Regions from separate parts of the Homo sapiens genome. Here all the other regions are linked to region 2. Evidence: promoter capture Hi-C in 16 types of primary human blood cells and fetal thymus (Javierre and others, 2016). All regions are on one chromosome and are shown on one strand. Each heading gives the region's core, a stretch centred on a gene start or on the middle of the fragment in contact. The rest is flanking DNA. Distances are from core to core; before and after follow the strand shown. Region 1 has its middle 90 kb from the start of LINC01986. Region 2 holds the start of CHL1 (cell adhesion molecule L1 like). Region 3 has its middle 69 kb from the start of LINC01986.

Region 1 (3,023 bases), core at 24-2,523, 95 kb after region 2:
TTATGTAACAGCCCATATCCAATAATTTGCCCCTCAGGTGAAGGGGTTGTATTTTAATGTCACCTTTTTTCGAGCTGGTGTGTAGCACAGTGCCTCACACATAGTGGGTACTTGGTAAATTATCCTTGCACAAATGAGTGAATATTTTCCAGTGACTTTCACAGCTTTTACAACATTTACTTCCATTAGTCTAACAGGTTCAATGTTTGTAATATCACTACAGTGGGTTGCCAAGGAATAAAACGCCTGAAGTCTGAAGTGCAGTTCTTTGCTTCTCAGCTGAATTGATTCACAGAGAAGAAACACACCGCATATCAAGTACCTCACTCTTATATTTACCTGCAAGGTCTGGAAGGATGCTAGCTCTATAGGGAACTAAATGAAGTCTATAGCCCTCAAAACAAAGTGATTACAAATGCACAAGTAAAATGCAAACATTTGAGTTACGTATGCATGTTTGCCTTTATTTTATCTTACTTCTTTTGTTTTCTTTCTTTCTTTCCCCTTGTCCTGTTCTCTGTCTTAGCCTGGCTTTGAAGTGATCTAGCCATTAAAATCCTAGGTTCCTGTTGTAAAGTAGAATCCTTTCCAAAATATAAAAACAAAATCTCACTCACTTCTTACAAATGATGATGAGGATGGTAATCATGATGATCGTGATGATAATTGAGTCCAGAAACTTACTGTTTTCCTACAATTTCTAGATAAAAAAATTCCAGAAATAATTTTTATCCAAGATTAACACAGACTTTAGAATCTGAAAGACTGTTTACACATCCCAGCTCTGCACTGACCAAGTATGTGATCTTGGGACTCAGTTTTCTTTTCTGTAAAAAGATACAATGCACTTACCTCAAAGAGAGAAATTAAACAATGTATTGAAAGCACTCTGCATGATTTTTTCAGCCTCTGGCCTACTCCTTTTAAGTTAATATATTTTGAAAGAATGATGGAAGGGGAAACAACAAATAGCTCCTGAAGGTTTGAACATTTATCCACTTTCTTCCAGATCTGTCCAGTAGACATTTCTGTGACAGCAGGAATGTTACTGATCTTCGCTGGACAATGTGGTAGCCTTGTGTCACATGTGACTACTGAGTACTTGAAATGTGGCTAGGGTAACTGAGGAACTCAATTTTTAATTTTACATGAACGTAATTCATTTACATTGAGTGTTCACACCTGGCTTATGACTAGCATGTTAAAGCGCAGCTGCATTATCAACTATAGAAAACTAGATTATATAAATTTTGGACACAGAACAAAATTTTCAGAAAGTATTGCCCACTTTTGGAATAACAAAATAAATAATCTTCTCCTAGAGAAGAAGCCCTTCTCTTGGTTCTTTGATCCTGATCTCACTCACGATATTGGAACTGCTTGTGGAGTTTCATGCTTTGAGGAGAAAACCTTGTGTACTGTGATGATAGCCATCCTTTAAAGACCCCACCTGCCTGCCTGGATGTATTTAAGCTCCAAGGATTTCTGAGAAGCACTGGGATCACCAATTAGGACAGGGTGAAGGTGAATGGAGTTAGAAGGTCATGGGTGGCCAGTTCTGCAGTCATCAAGCCTTTTTCAGAGGTCAAATGTGGCTGTGGTTAAAGGTTGACACAGTTATGCTGTGTTTGCTGCTGATAAAATGACCCAGAAACCCCACCAGCTTCATTTGCTTTTAAGTATTCTATGAGGGGATATCATAAATTTATGTTTAGATAGTGCCCTAATGAGGAGAAAAGATGCTACATGCATTTAAAATATGTTGTAATTCAAAGAAGTGTTTTAAACATTGATTTTTGAAAACATTTAAACCATTAAATCATAAAGCATAGGACCCTTAGAAATAATTTAACTCAACCCATTTGTTTTCGAGTTGAAAAGGCTGAGAAGTGACCAGCTCAGGGACAAAAGATAGCAGCATAACTAAGAGTAAAAGCCTGGTTTGCTGGTTCTCAGTGCTGGCTCTGCTAGACCCCATAGAAGTTGCAAATAGAAAAAGGGGAGGGGGGAAAAGATCCATTTTGAAAGACTGCTGGAATGTCAAAACACTTGTAGGCTAAGAAAAGAGTTATATGTAAATGTATTATAATGAGATACTTTGGAAAAGGGGGGTAACATTTATGTATTTTCCTTAATTTTGCCCCCCAGTCCTGTCTCCCCAGGCACTCGTGGCTTCTGATTCGCTCAAAAGACATTAATACCCTCTTAGAGTAAATTAGGCAGGTTGGAAAATGACATTAACTCTTTACACTCCCCAGAGAGGTCATTTGGTAAATCCTTGCATCAGAGCACTAATTTTCTTCCTGGTGTGTGGCGAATGCCCTGGCGGAAAAGGCACCTGTCAGTGTGAGGGTGAGGTCAGGGACCACATTATTGGGACTTTATTGCTAAGGAGATGAGCCGAAGCCTGCTACATGTAAATCAAAGAGTTAACAATGGGCCAGGTGGCCACTCTGGCTTTGTCATCTCAGGGTCACAACTGGACAGGCTACAATCTGTCATCTTTCAGACACTTGGTTTTGGCAGCCACTGTATTTTGCAAACCATCATTTGTGTTTCTGTAAAGCCCGCAACATGGTATTACACAGCCTGAAATCACTCAATTTTCAGGACTCATTCTACTCCTACCATCTAATCTTCTCTGGGATTAAGAAGCCAAGGTGAGCTTGGAAATCTCTGCGGTCATCATTTCTTCAAGTTTTTTCAATTTCCTATTTTGAGTCAGACACAATTGTGGACTCCGAACTTGACATTCACTCCCAGATTGGAAACTCAAAGAACCTCATTTCGTTCTTACAGAAGAATTGCTTCAATATTGTAAGAGAATATAAAACTCCCCCACTGTACCACACTTCTACACACACACATATTTGCCCTTTTCTAAAAAAACAAACAAAGAAACAAAAAAACTACACCAAGACTATAGTAATACTAGAAAAGATGAAACTAACAAGAGACTATCTGAATTCCTAGAGCACTGTTTAGAGAAAATAAGAATTTACAATCCTGTGAGGGGAATTATG
Region 2 (2,700 bases), core at 88-2,587:
GGGGTACCTGGGCCCGCGCGGCTGCTGCTCCTCCGGCCCGTGGTTTTTCGCAGGAGTTCCCCGGCCCTGCCCCTGGCTGAGACACTGTGGCTCGCAGCGAGCCCGGAGAGTGGGAACGGAGGGGCTGGCTTTCCCCAGCCTCCCGGCTCCAATCCCTGCTCCCCAAATTAATCACTTTCTCCGTGCTGCCTCCCCACGCACACTCACACTCCAAAAAAAAAAAAAAAGCGAGAGAAAGAGAGAGGCACAAAGAGGAAGAAGGGACCATCCGCGACCGGCATCTCCAGCCCCCCGGGCTCCGCTACCAGGAGCCATGGCAACCACGGCCCCCGGCGCGCCCTCTCGCCCCTCGGCGGTCTGGGGAGGTGGAGCTCTAGCCCCTCTCTGGGTTTTCGTGCTCCCCAACCCCACAACCCCACGGTCCATGGATTCCCCGCTCCAGGCTGGCGGCATTTTCGGAACCCCCCCCGGGCTGGGATCTAGAATCCTCTCCTGAGAGGAGGAGCCACACAGGGGCAGTGGACTGGGGGGGTCTGAGCCCCACACACCAGGCGGTGTCCAGGGGAGCGAGGGGCGCGGTGGGAGACAGAGGCCGGGACTGACCCCCAGACCAGCTAGACCTCGGAGCCCCACCCGAGAGAGGGCGGAGATCTACGGGGGGGTCTGGAATCCTCCTCAGAGAGCAGCGAGGGATGGGGTGGCGGAGGCTGGAAGCGGGAGGGCCAACCTACCGGCGGCCGGCGGGCGTGAGTGGGACCCGGCGGATTCGGGCGCCCGGTGTGCTCCGTCGACTGACCCCGAGCTGTCCGAATCCGGCCTCGGCCACCGGGGGCGGGGCGTGAAAAGGGGGCGTCTCCTCCCGGGTGCAGGCTGAGGGGCCCGGACCACCCCCACTGCGGACGAGGGACCCTGACCGCGCCCCGCTTCCTTTCCATAACGAGTGGACCCCTCCCGGAGCACCTTCAGCCCTTCCTCCACGGGAGACCCCCCCAGCGCCGGCACGAGAGATGCCAGCGGACCCCCACCCCTGACACACCTGCGCCGCCTCCGAAACGCGATCTGTCCGGCGCCTCCCCTCGGGCGCCTTCTCCCCCGAGCCGGCCGGGAGCCGGGACGGGGGCGCGCAGGGTCCGGTAAGCTCTGGGCGGATCCAGGGAGGGTCTCGCCGGCCGCTGCCCGCTGGTCCGCACCCGGGGCTGTCCGCGGAGGTCCCGCCCGTCCCCTCCCGCCGCTGGCTCTCTGGCCGCGGGAAGGCTGGAGCCGTTCTGGCTGGCACCGGGGTCTACGCCCTCCTGCCGGAGGCTGGCTCTCGCCTCTGCTCCCTTCCTGGGTTCTGCGCCGCCACCCCTCACCCACGCCGCTTATCTTCCCTCCCTTTGCACGCTCCCGCGGGACAGGGAGAGTTACAGGCTTCAGACTTTATCTCGTTGTGGAAAGCAAGAGACCAAGCCAAAAACTTTGGTCGTGCTTTTCAACATCTCCGGTCAAAAGAGGTAGGATCCCTGCTCGTTTATCTGCAAAAGCGACATTTAAAAGAAACGCCCCCCACCCCCTCCCCGATGGTTTCACTCGGTTCATGTTGCACACACAGGTCGCCAATCTGCTTTTCTCCCATTGCTGCGTCTTAGAGGGGTGTGGTGCCATGTACGTATTAAAAATTGTCTTCTTGCTTTCCTTCATTTAAGGGCGTGGTGGGGCTTGCTATTGAATTTACAAAATATGCTACGACCATCCGCTGTCAAATTGTGCATGCTTAAATTTACAGATCTTCTACTATCTCACAATTTTTGCCCTAATACAGAGTCTATAATGTTACCACATCGTTTCGTAACGTTTTTCCTACTTATCCTTTATTAATTCACTATTGGAGAGGAAAGCCTTCTGTACTCATATTCAGTGCAAAAAGCCAGTTCTGATGCCTTATGAATCCACAAACACATAAAAATATTTTAGGATTCCAAAATTCATATGGAAAAATTATAATTTTTAGCACTACATTTGATTTATATGCCACTTTATTTTTTTTCCATTATGGTGGTATTTTCCAAAATTTTTACAGGATACCACTTTTGAAAATCCTGTTGAATGCAAGTCCTCTTTGTTGGTAAGAGAATTATTGACTTCTAATTTTTACTCCACTAAGGCTGTGAGATTGACCTTACAGCCTCGTTTTGTTTTCATCTAGCTCATTGAACAATGAGGATATTTAGCTCCCCTCAGAGCTACCCTCAGAGTTGGATGAGCTATCCTCAGAGTTGGATGCCACCACCGGGAGCAGCAAAAGCGAAGGCAACTCATGATTCTGCCTCAGAAGCAATCGAATAAAATATTTTGAAAATGAATGAATGGACTTTTAAATTTTAATCATCGCTAACCTTGGGGCCTCGATTCTGTCAATTTGTGTGTGGGCACAGTTCTTACCAACTGCCTTGGCAAATTGTGAATGCAAGTGAGGGCAGGATTTGTCCTAAGTTTAAATTGTACTGCTGGAGTGATTTCTTTTGCCTGAGGCATCATTATTCACGTGGCATGTTTTCTAAAGTAGAAACAAAGATAGAATATTAAATAAAATTCCAACAGGGGGAAATACTCTGCCTGTAGAAAAACATTTCCAAGGTCAAGGAACCACAAGAGAACAACAAAGCGAAGTTGGTCTCAGGAGTTTACCATCTTCTGGGTGAACAAACATCAGCTGAGCAA
Region 3 (2,757 bases), core at 103-2,602, 120 kb after region 2:
GATGTGGTTTCTAGTTTAGAATCTCTGCTGTGCAACCTGAGTATGTGACATCTTGCCTTTGAGTTTTTCTCTCTGGGCCTCAATTTCATATTCTATAAAATGTTCCTCAAAGTGTGGTTCATGAACATTTGCCTGAGAAGCACCTGGGAGGCTGATTTTTTAAGACGTATATTCTTGAGTGATTTCTGCTTCCCGGCAATATACAGTAAAGATGCTTTTGCCAATTCCTCCCATAAAGTACAGCTAAAAACAACAGCAAACATGAGAAAACTCTGAGATGTGAAGAGAAACGCACAGACTGGCTAGATAATTAAGACTCCAGGAATGACATCGGTGAGTTCCCTGGATTCTCTTTTTTGCCTCATGTCTTGGAGCTGAAGAAGGTGGCAACCTGAAAATGCCAATTAGAAACAAAAATGGCCCCAGCAAAAGTTTATTCACTGTAGCCAAAGGACCAGGAAACGGGCAGCCTGTCAACATACAAAATATTTAGATAATAACCACTCTGCCCCAACTAATACCACAGAACTGTGGTCCCATCCCCAACAGTAAAGGCCACAAGGAAAGTCTAGACTCCCTCCCCCACCTATAACCAGGTGCTTCAACACCTCCACTGGGGTGCTGCCAAAAAAGGCCAAGTAGGATCCAGGACTTTTATTCCCCACTGGCAAGTAATGAAGCTCACGGCGCCATGGTGTCAGTGGAGAACATTTGGGGAACTGGAACTCTTAATTCCACCAAGCAGTAATGGGGAGCCCTACCCCCTTGGGTGTCAACAGAGACCAAGTGGGAAAGCTAGACTTCTACCTCCACTTGGCAGGAATGTGTTAGTATCCTCCTCTTCCTAGACATGCTGGACTTATGTCAGGGAAAGCCAGCTAAAGCAGAAGGTTTAAATAAGATCTAGAGCCTCAAAACATAATATGAAAATGTCCCCGTTTCAATAAAAAAATCACTCATCATACCAAAATCCAGGAAGACCCAAACTGAATGAAAAAAGGAAAATCAATAAATGCCAATATCAAGATGACCAGAGATGTTTAGAATTATCAGATGAAGATTTTTGAAGCTGCCAAGATAAAAAATGCTTCAGAGAGTAATCATGAATGTACGTGAAACAAATGAAAAACAGAAAGCTTCAGTAAAGAAATAAAAGGTATAAAGAAGACCTAAATGGAAATTTTAGAACTGAAGAACAGTATAATGGGAATAAAAACCTCAGTGGGTGGGCGTGGCTACAAAAAGGAGAGCTAGAGGATAAGATCAGGGCCCTGAAAGATGGAACAGTAGAAATTACCAAGTTTAAACAACAGAGAGAAAAGAGACTGAACAAAAGTGAACAGAGTTTCAGGGACCTGTTGGACTACAACAGAAGGTCCAATATTCACGTCGTTGGAGTACTGGAAGGAAACGAGAAATAAGAGCTGAAAAAGTACTCAAGCAAATAAGGGCTGAAAACTTTCAAATTTGGCAAGAGGTATCAACCTACACACCCAAGAAACTGATTTCACACTGAACAGAAAAGGCCCAGAGAAATCCATGCCAAGTTGCAATATAATTAAGCTTCTTAAAACTGAAGACAAAAGAAAAAAATCTTGAAAGCTGCCAGAAAAAAAATGGAATTTTTATCCATAGGCAAAAGAACAATTCGAAGGACAGCAGATTTCTCCTCAGAAACCATGGATGCCAGAAAAAAATGACAAAATAGTTTTCTAGTCTTAAAAAGAAAAGATTTGTCAACCCAGAAACCCACAGCCAGTGAAAACATCCTTCAGGAATGAAGAGGAAATCAAAACATCATTAGATGAAAAACTAAGAGAATTTGTCATCATCACACCTACTTTAAAAGAGTGACTAAAAGATGTTCTCTAAGTAAAATTTTTTAAAAAAGGAAATTCGAAAAATAGAAAAGAAAGAAAAGCATGGTCAGCAAAAATACAAATAAATACATTAGATTTTTCTTCTTCTCTTTGAGTTTTCTAAAGTATGTTTGAAGGCTGAAAGAAAAATTGTGACACTGATGTGGCTCTAGATGTATGTAGAGAAACTATCTAGGATAATTATATCATAAATGGGGGAGGGTAAATGCACACAATGGGAGCTAGAGGATGTGGGCGTTGTATCAGGAAGGCAATAATAGCTTTTCCCAAACACCCTGGAAGATTTCTAATTGTGTCTCGCTGGTAAGAACTCTACCACCATGGGCACCTAGAGGCAAGAGAGTAAATGCTTTTAGTCAGGCACATGGATTTTGTTAAAAATAAAAAAGAGAAGGATAACTATTTGGTGGACAATAAACAGTATCTGATACTAACTCTGAGAGCTGGTGAATGAGTTATATAAGATACTATTTTTAAAATGCTCAGTGCAGAGTCTAGCCCATATTACTATTTATACTAAATAAATGTCTCTTTCCTTCTTTGATGGAAACATATAAGAGCACAATATTGTATTTCAGAGATCCAGAATAGACCTAATTTTTCATTTTCAAGAGTAATTTCAGATCTTTTCAAGAAGATATTAAGGGTTTTGATGTATTTTCTGTCTTATTGCCTGAGTATACGCAGTAAAAGTTGACAGTTAAACAGTAAATAATGGGTAAGATAAAGGGTCATGCGTTCAATAAGTTTAGAAATGTAAACCAATATCCAACATGTATACTGGAACCGCAGAAAGGACAGTGGTGATGCAGGAAGAAAAAAGCCCTGCTATGTCAATTAGAAGCAAAATATAGAGCTAGAGGCTTCCCCTCAATGG

What was found. The method cuts DNA at HindIII sites, captures the fragments that hold promoters and counts their contacts. A CHiCAGO score of 5 or more calls a contact.
Region 1: a fragment that was not itself captured here is called in contact with the fragment with the promoter of CHL1 in region 2 in 1 of 17 cell types (naive B cells); the score reaches 5.2 in naive B cells.
Region 3: a contact is called between a fragment that was not itself captured here and the fragment with the promoter of CHL1 in region 2, in 2 of 17 cell types (naive B cells and total B cells). The highest score is 9.2, in naive B cells.

What each region holds. Positions count from the first base shown.
Region 1 is chr3:99,913-102,935 of GRCh38, reverse strand. No RefSeq gene overlaps it. Among named protein-coding and RNA genes, the nearest start is that of LINC01986, 90 kb to the right of the region's middle. The HindIII fragment of the contact is 8,634 bases long and covers 1-3,023 here.
Region 2 is chr3:195,400-198,099 of GRCh38, reverse strand. CHL1 (cell adhesion molecule L1 like) reads right to left here and starts at 1,337. Exons shown (of 28, transcript NM_006614.4): 1 at 1,037-1,337. CHL1-AS2 (CHL1 antisense RNA 2) reads left to right here and starts at 759. Exons shown (of 4, transcript NR_144487.1): 1 at 759-1,133; 2 at 1,592-1,644; 3 at 2,060-2,104; 4 at 2,186-2,342. The HindIII fragment of the contact is 3,854 bases long and covers 1-2,700 here.
Region 3 is chr3:78,906-81,662 of GRCh38, reverse strand. No RefSeq gene overlaps it. Among named protein-coding and RNA genes, the nearest start is that of LINC01986, 69 kb to the right of the region's middle. The HindIII fragment of the contact is 427 bases long and covers 1,139-1,565 here.